2 separate regions of the Homo sapiens genome follow, and region 2 is linked to region 1. The links are contacts of gene promoters, found by promoter capture Hi-C in human tissues and cell types (Jung and others, 2019). All regions are on one chromosome and are shown on one strand. The core of a region is centred on a gene start or on the middle of the fragment in contact, and the rest is flanking DNA. Distances in the headings are between cores, read along the strand shown. Region 1 holds the start of EDC3 (enhancer of mRNA decapping 3). Region 2 has its middle 11 kb from the start of CYP1A1.

Region 1 (5,029 bases), core at 1,559-4,058:
TATAGATTCGATGCAATCCCAATCCAAGTATCAGCATATTATTTTTGTGGATGTCGACAAACTGATTGTAAAATTGATATGGAGATACAAAAGACCTAGAAGAGCCAGCTCACTATTAAAGGAGAACAAAGTTGGAGGACTGATACTACCCAACTTCAAGACTTACTATAAACTACAGTAATAATGACAATGTGGTATTGGTGAAAGAATAAACAATCCAGAAGTAGACCCACATAAACGTAGTCAACTGATCTTTGACAGAGGAGTTAAAGCAATATAATGGAGCAAAGATAGGTTTTTCAACAAATTATGTTGGAACAACTGAATTTTCACACACATAAAAATGTATCAGGCCGGGTACGGTGGCTCACGCCTGTAATCTCAGCACTTTGAGAGGCCGAGGTGGGCAGATCAATTGAGATCAGGAGTTCGAGACCAGCCTGGCCAACATGGTGAAACCTTGCCTCTACTAAAAATACAAAAACTAGCCAGGTGTGGTGGCGGGTGCCTGTAATCCCAGCTACTTGGGAGGCTGAGACAGGAGAATCACTTGAACCCAGGAGGCAGACATTGCAGTGAGCTGAGATCGTGCCACTGCACTCCAGCCTGGGCAACAGAGTGAGACTCCGTCTCAAAAAAAAAAAAAAAATTATCTAGGCAAAGACCTTGCACCCTTCATAAAAATTAACTCAGAATGGATTGTAGACCTAAATGTAAAATGGAACACTATAAAACTCCTGGAAGACAACACAGGAGAAAACCTAACTGATCTTGGGAATGGCAATGACTTTAGGGCAATACCAATAGCATAATCTGTGAAAAATATAATTGATAAGCTGGACTTCATTAAAATTTAAAACTTCTGCTCTTCAAAAGAAGAATGAGAAGACAAGCCACAGACTAGGAGAAAATATTATAAAAGACGTATCTGATAGAGGACTGTTATCTACAATATACCCAGAACTCTTAAATCACAACAAGAAAATAACACAATGTAAAAATGGGCAAAATACCTGAATGAACACTTCATCAAAGAAGATATACACATGGCAAGTAAGTATATGAAAAGATGTTCAATATCATATGTCATTAGGGAATTGCATATTAAAACAATAAGATACTACTACACACTTACTTGAACGGCAAAATACTGACACCACAAAACGCTGACAAGGATGTGGAGCAACAGAAACCCTCATTCACTGCTGTGGGAATGCAAAATGATGCAGCCACTTTGAAAGGCAGTTTGGTAGTTTCTCCCAAAACTAAATATACCATCCAATCCAGCAGTTGCACTCCTTGGTATTTACCCAGATGAATTGAAAACTCATGTCTACACAAAAATCTGCACATGATGTATAGCGGCTTTATTCATAATTACCCAAACTTGGAGGCCACCAAGATGTCTTTCAGTAGGTGAATGGATAAACCGCAGCACATCCAGACGATGGAATATTATTATTCAGCACAAAAAAGAAATGAGCTATCAAGCCATGAAAAGACATGGAAGAACTTTAAGTGCATAAGTGAAAGAATCCGATGTGAAAAGGCTGCATACTGTATGATTCCAACTATATGGGATTCTGGAAAAGGCAAAACTATGGAGACAGTAAAAGGAGCAGTGGTTGCCAGTGGTTAGGGGACTGAGAAGGATAAATAGGCAGAGGACAGAGGATTTTCAGGGCAGTGAAACTATCGTGTATGATACCATAATGGTGGATACATGTCATTACATATATGTCAAAACCCACAGAATGTGCAACACCGAGAGTAAACTCTAATGTAAACTATGGACTCTGGGTGATAATGATGTGTCAAAGTTGGGTAATCAATTGTTACCAAATGTACCACTGTAGCACAAGATGTCCATGAGGGGACAAGTTGTGTATGTGCCTGTGTGTACAGGGGATATATGGGAACTCTGTACTTTCTGTTCAGTTTTGCCCTGAACCAAAAACTGCTCTATAAGTGTTCATTAATAACAGTAATTTTAAAAGACAAGGACCCCTTCTGACCTAGGGAATCTCTGGTGATGGAGGGGGAAGGGTGAAGCAGTCCCCTAGAAAGTGTAGATTTTACAAAGTTCTTCAACTGATTTTGTAGAGCTAGGTTTGGAACTGCTACCCTACTCTATGCTATTCGCCCAAGTAGTGGTTCCCAAACCAGGTGTCAGGCTTCAAGGCTGTGCAATATTCCTCATTACACGGTCTTGGCCCTAAACGCATGCTTTCCCGTCTCCCCACAAATCAAGACTCTAAAATGCCAGGGGTAGAAGAGCGGCACTTTCCTGTGTACTGAGTATGGGGGAAGGGAGAGCAGTCAAGCACGGACTGGCTGATTTTAACCCCCAAAAGGGCTGAAGCTGATACGCTTTGAAGATCGACCACGGCAGGAATATCTTGTTTTCTTTAATCCATCAGGGGGTTGTCGCACTTATTAAGTCCCACAGCTGCAGTTTAGCACGGAGGGGCTGTCACGTCACCAGGCCTCCCTGAAAGTCCTCCGCTCCAGCTCTGCGATTGGCGCTGGGGTAACAGGAGGGGAAGCGGGTGCTTTTCATCGAGCCTGCAAGAGGGGGGCCCAGGCATCGAGGCTGGGGAGTCGTGGGTAGAGCCCCGATTCCAGCCAAGACGCCACAGGACATAAGTAAGCGTGGAGGGCAAAATGACTACCCAAGCGCAATTCTGTAAGGCCGAAGGGACGTTCTTCCAACCTCTTAAATTTCCCGGGTGCCACGCCCCTCAATTGACGGCCCTGGATTCCAAGGTGTCGCGCCGGAAGTGACCTCACGGTGGTGGCGTGGAGACGTGGGGGCGCTTCCGGCAGCGGCGGCGGTGGTGAAGGCCGATGCTGTGGGGGTGGGCGTGGAGAGAATTCTTCTGTGGGTCCTCTGGTGTTGAGTGGTCGGCTTGGTGTGGTGTGCGGAGGAGCTCCAGGCCCGTCGGCGCGGAGGTGGGAGCGAAGGGAGGCTACTGGTTTGTGGACGGTCGTGGGAGGGGGCTGCCGGGGTTGCTTTAGGCTTCAGAGTTCCAGGCCTCGTAGACCTTTATAGAGGCAGGCAGGCAGGCAAGAGCTGGGGGCTTCATCGGATGAGCAGGGGACCACGTACTACGGGCGGCCCCAGGAGTTTGGTTTGAGGTGGAAGGCTGAGGACTGCAGGATTCTAAATAGTATGGGGATTGTGTGGGGAGTGAGGCATTAGCTGCTTGGGCCCTTAGTCCAGCCTTGTTGGTGGCTGCTGCAGTTCTTTGGCTCACTCACTCTGTTCTTCGTGCCTCAGTTTCCCTTTGCATAATGAGATACGGTGGCAGAGAAGAACGCCAGTGCCACATCCATGACTGATAGCTTGAGGACGGAGATGAACTGGAGGGTAGAAAAAGAGGATGCCTGAGAAATTTATACCTACCAGGTCACATCTTCGAATCCCAGGAAGTTATCCCTGGATTCATTTCTGCCTTTGATGCAAGTCTGTGGTTCTTTTCAGTACACTTTGTGTGATATTGATTGTATGTATCAATACTTGACTTGCTGAGTGGTTAAAGTGTTTTGGTTTGTGGGAGGCATAGTCCTTGTTGGCTTGGTCAGTTAATTTTCAGTTAATCTCCCAATAGCAATTGCTTCGCCTAACTCTTCAATTGGGAGATTAGTTGAAAATCAACTGACCAAGCCAACAGTCTTCTCCTGTGGTTACAGGTGAGGAACTCGCGACCCAGAATGGTTTTTCTTCTCTTCCTTCGCCACAGACCAAACCGATTTCAGTCTGCTGTCTCAAATACAGGTCTTCACCCCACCAAAACAGAAATGGCTGTCTCCAAGCAGTTTAGTATTTCAACTGGACACCCAGATGGATCCTAATCTTTTTTTTTTTTTTTAATGAATGGCAGATTACGTGTACTGAGCACAAAATCCTCTTAGCTAGTTTCTCTGTATGATGTAAAAACATGACATTTTGTTTATTACCAATTTCTTGGTAGAGCCTCCTTGGCATAGGGCTGTGGGGCTAGAAAAGTGTCTCAAAATTTTTTACCTGTGACCCACAGTTAGATATATTATACATCATGACTTATTGTGCCCCTGCACACTCAGTGTGTACACACACACACACACCAATGAAAAGTTTACTTACCCTTTCTACAGAAGATGCACTCTAAAAAAATATTGGTTGCAACTCACTAAATTGAGTCTGACCCCTAATAGGTCATGACGTATAGTTTGAAAAATATTAAGGCCGGGCACTGTGGCTCACGCCAGTAATCCCAGCACTTTGGGATGCTGAGGCGGGTGGATCACCTGAGGTCAGGAGTTGGAGACCAGTCTGGGCAACGTGGTGAAACCCCGTATGTACTAAAAATACAAAACTTAGCTGGGTGGTGGTGGGTGCCTATAATCCCAGCTATTTGGGAGGCTGAGGCAGGAGAAACGCTTGAACCTGGGAGGGAGAGGTTGCAGTGAGCCAAGATATGCTACTGCACTCCAGCCTGGGCAACAAGAACTAAACTTCTCAAAAAAAGAAAAGAAAAGAAAAATATTAGACTAGGGCCGAGTGCAGTGGTGGGAGGATTGCTTAAGGCCAGCCTGGGCAACATAGCAAGACTCTGTCTAAGAAAAACAACATTAGAAAATGTTTAAAATCCTTGCCATTTGTGAGATTCTGTAATTAATACAAAATGGAAGATGTATCATTTTTCTTTTCTTATCCAGAGAAGGGCTTACTAGAGTTCTCCTAAATTCAGCCAGAACAACAGGACAGGACATCCAAATTGTGGCTCAAAGGAGTGTAGTGACCATAATGATAGTGTGTCAGAATTTTAGCAAGGCATTTATGAAGTTTTTGTTTTTTTTTTTGAGATGGAGTCTCACTCCATTGCCCAGGTTGGACGGAGTGCAGTGGTGCAATTTCTGCTCACTGTAACCTCTGCCTCCTGGTTCAAGCGATTCTCCTGCCTCAGCCTCCCAAGTACCTGGGACTACAAGCATGCACCACCACGCCTGGCTAATTTTTGTATTTTCAGTAGAGATGGGGTTTCAC
Region 2 (5,029 bases), core at 1,153-3,652, 41 kb before region 1:
TCTGCCTCCTGGGTTCATGCCATTCTCCTGCCTCAGCCTCCCAAGTAGCTGGGACTACAGATGCCTGCCACCATGCCCGGCTAATTTTTTTGTATTTTTAGTAGAGACAGGGTTTCACTGTGTTAGCCAGGATGGTCTTGATCTCCTGACCTCGTGATCTGCCCGCCTCAGCCTCCCAAAGTGCTGGGACTACAGGCGTGAGCAATAGCACCCAGCCTATTATTATTATTATTTTTTGAAGATGAAGTCTCACTGTCACCCAGGCTGGAGTGCAGTAGTACGATCTTGGCTCACTGTAACCTCTGCCTCCTGGGTTCAAGTGACTCTCATGTCTCAGCTTCCCAAGTAGCTGGGATTACAGGTGCATGCCACCACTCCTGGTTAACTTTTGTCTTTTTAGTAGAGACAAGGTTTCACTATGTTGGCCAGGCTGGTCTTGACCTCCTGACCTCAAGTGATAACCCCACCTGGGCCTCCCAAAGTGCTGGGATTACAGGCGTGAGCCACCGTGTCCAGCCTAATTTTAATTTTTAATTTTTGTGGGTACATAGTAGGTGTATATGTTTATGGGGCACATTAAATATTTTGATACAGGCATACAATGTGTAATAACCACATCGGGTTAAATGAGGTATCCATCATCTCAAACATTTATCCTTCCTTTGTGTTACAGACATCTATTCTTTCAGTTATTTAATAATGTACAATAAATTTTCATTGACTAATATGGTTTGGCTGTGTCCCCACTTAAATCTCATCTTGAATTCCCACATGCTGTGGGAGGGACCCAGTGGGAGGTAATTGAATCATGGGGGCAGGTGTTTCCTGTGCTGTTCTCGTGATAGTGAATAAGTCTCATGAGATCTGGTGGTTTTAAAAAGGGGAATTTCCCTGCACAAGCTGTCTTCTCTTGTCTGCCACCATGTGAGATGTGCCTTTCATCTTCTGCCATGATTGTGAGGCCTCCCCACCCACGCGGAACTGTAAGTCCATTAAACCTCTTTCTTTTGTAAATTGCCCAGTCTCGGCTATGTCTTTATCAACAGTGAAAACGGACTAATACATTGACTGTAGCCATCTTGTTGTGCCATCAAATACTAGATCTTATTCATTCTTTCTAACTATATTTTGTACCCATTAATCATCCCTACTCCCTCCCTGCTCCCACTACCCTTCCCAGCCTCTAGTAACCATCATTCTCCTATCTCCATGAGTTCAACTGTTTTAATTTTCAGCTCTCAAATAAGTGAGAACATGTGAAGTTTGTCTCCCCGTGCCTGGCTTATTTGACTCAACATAATGACCTCCAGTTCCATCCGTGTTGCTGCAAATGACAGGATCTCATTGGTTTTTTTTTTTTTTTTTTGAGACGGAGTCTCGCTCTGTCGCCCAGGCTGGAGTGCAGTGGTGTGGTCTCGGCTCACTGCAAGCTCCGCCTCCCGGGTTCACGCCATTCTTCTGCCTCAGCCTCCTGAGTAGCTGGGACTACAGGTGCCCGCCACCATGCCCGGCTAATATTCTGTATTTTTAGTAGAGACGGGGTTTCACCGTGTTAGCCAGGATGGTCTCTATCTCCTGACCTCATGATCCGCCCTCCTACGCCTTCCAAAGTGCTGGGATTACTGGCGTGAGCCACTGCGCCCGGCCGGATCTCATTCTTTTTACAGCTGAATAGCACTCCATTGTGTATATGCACTATATTTTCTTTACCTATTCATCTGTTGGTGGACACTTAGGTTGCTTCCAAATCTTAACTTTTGTGAACAATGCCGCAGTCAACATGGGAGTGCAAATATCTCTTTGACATACTGATTTCCTTTCTTTGGGTGTATACGTAACAGTGGGATTGCTGGATCGTATGGTAGCTCTATTTTTAGTTTATTGAGGAACCTCCAAACTGTTCTTTGTAGTGTTTACACTGATTTACATTTTCAACAGTGTACGAAGGTCCCCTTTCCTCCACATCCTCTCCAGCATTTGTCATTGCCTGTCTTTTGGACAAAAGCCATCTTAACTGGTGAGAGGATATCTCATTGTAGTTTTGATTTGCATTTCTCTGATCAATGATGTTAAGCACCTTTTCATATACTTGCTTGCCATTTGTATTTCTTCTTTTGAGAAATGTCTATTCAGATCTTTTGCCAGATTAAATTTAAAAGCCAGATTATTAGACTTTTTCCTGTTGAGTTGTTTGAGCTCCTTATATATTCCAGTTATTAATCCCATGTCAGATGGGTAGTTTGCAAATATTTTCTCCCATTCTGTGGATTGTCTCTTCACTTTGTTGATTGTTTCCTTTGCTGTGCAGAAGCCTTTTAACTTGATGAGATCTCATTTGTCCATTTTTGCTTCAGCCTGTACTTGTAAGATATCACTCAAGACATCTTTGTCCGGGCCAGGCAAGGTGGCTCATGCCTATGATTTCCAGCACTTTGTGAGACCTAGGCAGGAGGATAGCTTGAGCCCAGAAGTTTGAGACCAGCCTGGGTAGCATAGTTGAGACTGTGCCTCTACAAAAAAAAAAAAAAAAAAAAAAAAGAAAGAAAAAAAGAAAAGAGGAATTTTTGTCCAGTCCTGGAGAGTTTTCCCAATGCTTCCTTTTAGTAATTTCATAGTTTGTGGTCTTAGATTGAAGCCTTTAATCCATTTTGGTTTTGATTTATGTATATGGTGAGAGACAGGGGTCTAGTTTCATTCTCATGTGTCTCTTTGAAGAGTGAAGAAAGCTTCTCCTAAAAGTTGTCCCAGCAGATTTTTTCCCATATCATTGGCCAGAATCATGTCACAGATCTATGTTTAATTAAATCACCAGCAAGACAGCCAGGGCAACAATGACTGGTTCAGATCAGCCAAGACCCACTCTGTGAGGCTGGGGCTGGGGTCAGCTTCCCCTAAAGCACATAGTTCTAGAAAGGAAGATGGAGGGTTCCTAGACAAAACAAGAGCGGTGAGTGCTAAGGAGGAAAAATCAAGATTGGGAGGAAGGGCTATTGGGTGTCTACAAGTGATGGAGCAGTTGAGTTGGAAAAGGATTCGTAAGTTGGCTGAGTGGCCCTCACTGGCTGGACACCCCAGTGGATCTGAATAGGCTACCTCCTTGGCAAAGACCATGGGAGCATGTATGTCTCAGTCTGTTCTCGGTTGCTATAACAGGATACCACTGACTAGGTCAGGCGTGGTGGCTCACACCTGTAATCCCAGCACTTTGGGAGGTTGAGGTAGGTGGATTACTTGAGATCAGGAGTTCCAGACCAGCCTGGCCAATATGGTGAAATCCCCGTCTCTACTGAATAAATGCAAAAATTAGCCGGGTGTGGTGGTGCATGCCTGTAATCCCAGCTATTTGGGAGGCTGAGGCAAGAGAATCACTTGAACCTGGGAGGTGGTGGTTGTAGTGAGCCGAGATCACACCATTGCACTCCAGCCTGAGTGACAGAGTGAGGCTCAATCTCAAAAACAAACAAACAAACAAACAAAACAAGCCAAAACACCAAAACACAGAGGGGGACATTACATGGTAAGAGGGCAAGAGTGTGGTGTCAGCTCAGGTCTCTCTTCCTCTTCTTATAAAGCCTCCAGTCTCATCATGGGAGTACCACCTTGATGACCTTATCTAATCTTAATTACTTCCCAAAGCCCTCACTACCTTTAATCAACATATGAATTTTGGGATTATGTTTCCAACACATGAAAATTGGGGCGCACATTCTAACCAGGGCGGAACACTTCTAGGAGCACTTGGCTGATAGAGAAGTGTCCCCAGAGGCTCTGCTTTGATTGAGGACATGAATGTTCATTATCAACAAACATCAGTGTTTATATGTAAAGAGGCATTACTAACTTGGAAACAGAGTGTTCCTCTGATCATGCCGAACATGCCCTTCAGTAGCTCAAACATTCCCCTGCAAGGCTTATTTCATAATTCATTGGCTTGGGAAACATTTGTGCAATAATAAACTGCTAACCTGAGAAGAATTAGTCAAATTCTCATCTATAATATGGACCTAAATTAATCATATTTGATGTTATTAAAGGCAGAAGAGAAAGGAAAAAGAAGATCTCCTTTCATCTCCACTGCCCTCCATCTAGGGTCAGTCCAGAAGCTCTGGGCCACCTGCTCCCCAGCTTTCTCTGGGCAGCATCCCGGAGGCTGGATCTTCATAGCCCTTCCCCACCCACCAAAACATGGAGGATTTTTGTCCCAATCCTGCTGAGAGCAGCTGCAGAGCCTGATCTCCCCTGATTACTGTGGTGTATCTGGGGTGTGTAGAGAGAAGCCATCCTGTTGGGAGGAACCTGGAGACTTTAAAATTGGAGGAGGTTGGGAAAGTCTGAGGATCATGGCCATGTGGTTGGCAGTGAGACCCAGCCCAGATGTTGGTCTTGGATAGAGTGAAGCTGGCACAAGGCAGGATGCTAAGCTAGGCCAGACCAAGATGAACTTCTTAAGGCAGGAGTGTACCTGATCACCTATCTCCTGGGAGCAAAATGATTAACGCCCATCTAGCAGGCATTAAAAAAGCATCTGAGCTGAGGGGATCCATTCAGCTGACTGTCTTGGACTTGGTGCCCTGCCTACCAGGAACCAGACTCTCACACAAGGCCTCTGCCACTTCAAATCTCGTGTATTTTCCCACTTGGGGGCCTGCCACGCTTAAATTCAATTATTTAACAACTATCTATTTAGCATCTGCTATGTGCTAGATGCTATTCGTGAAGCATTGATCACAAGAGATCAAAGTGCCTGCTCTGTTGGAGCTTACATTTTAGTTGAGGGATATAGCCTATCTGCAACATAAATACGCAAAATATACAGTATGTTTGGAGTCTCTAAGTGCTATAAAATTAAGTAGAGAGAAGGATAGAAACTATGAGTCAGGGTAACAGTTTTAGGTGGGATGGCCAAGGAAGGTAAGGAATACCTGAGACTGGGTAATTGATAAAGAAAAGAGGTGTAATTGGCTCATGGTTCTGGAGGCAGTACCAGCATGGATGCAGCATCTGCTTCCGGTGCGGGCCTCAGGAACCT

The links. The method cuts DNA at HindIII sites, captures the fragments that hold promoters and counts their contacts. A contact is called where the count stands out against the background at its distance.
Region 2: a contact is called between a fragment that was not itself captured here and the fragment with the promoter of EDC3 in region 1, in 5 of the 25 tissues and cell types used here (heart right ventricle, lymphoblastoid cells, mesenchymal stem cells and 2 more).

What each region holds. Positions count from the first base shown.
Region 1 is chr15:74,693,803-74,698,831 of GRCh38, reverse strand. It overlaps EDC3 (enhancer of mRNA decapping 3), which reads left to right and starts at 2,808. Exons shown (of 7, transcript NM_025083.5): 1 at 2,808-2,952. RefSeq lists an enhancer at 2,759-2,848. The HindIII fragment of the contact is 33,216 bases long and covers 1-5,029 here.
Region 2 is chr15:74,734,341-74,739,369 of GRCh38, reverse strand. No RefSeq gene overlaps it. Among named protein-coding and RNA genes, the nearest start is that of CYP1A1, 11 kb to the right of the region's middle. The HindIII fragment of the contact is 3,761 bases long and covers 522-4,282 here.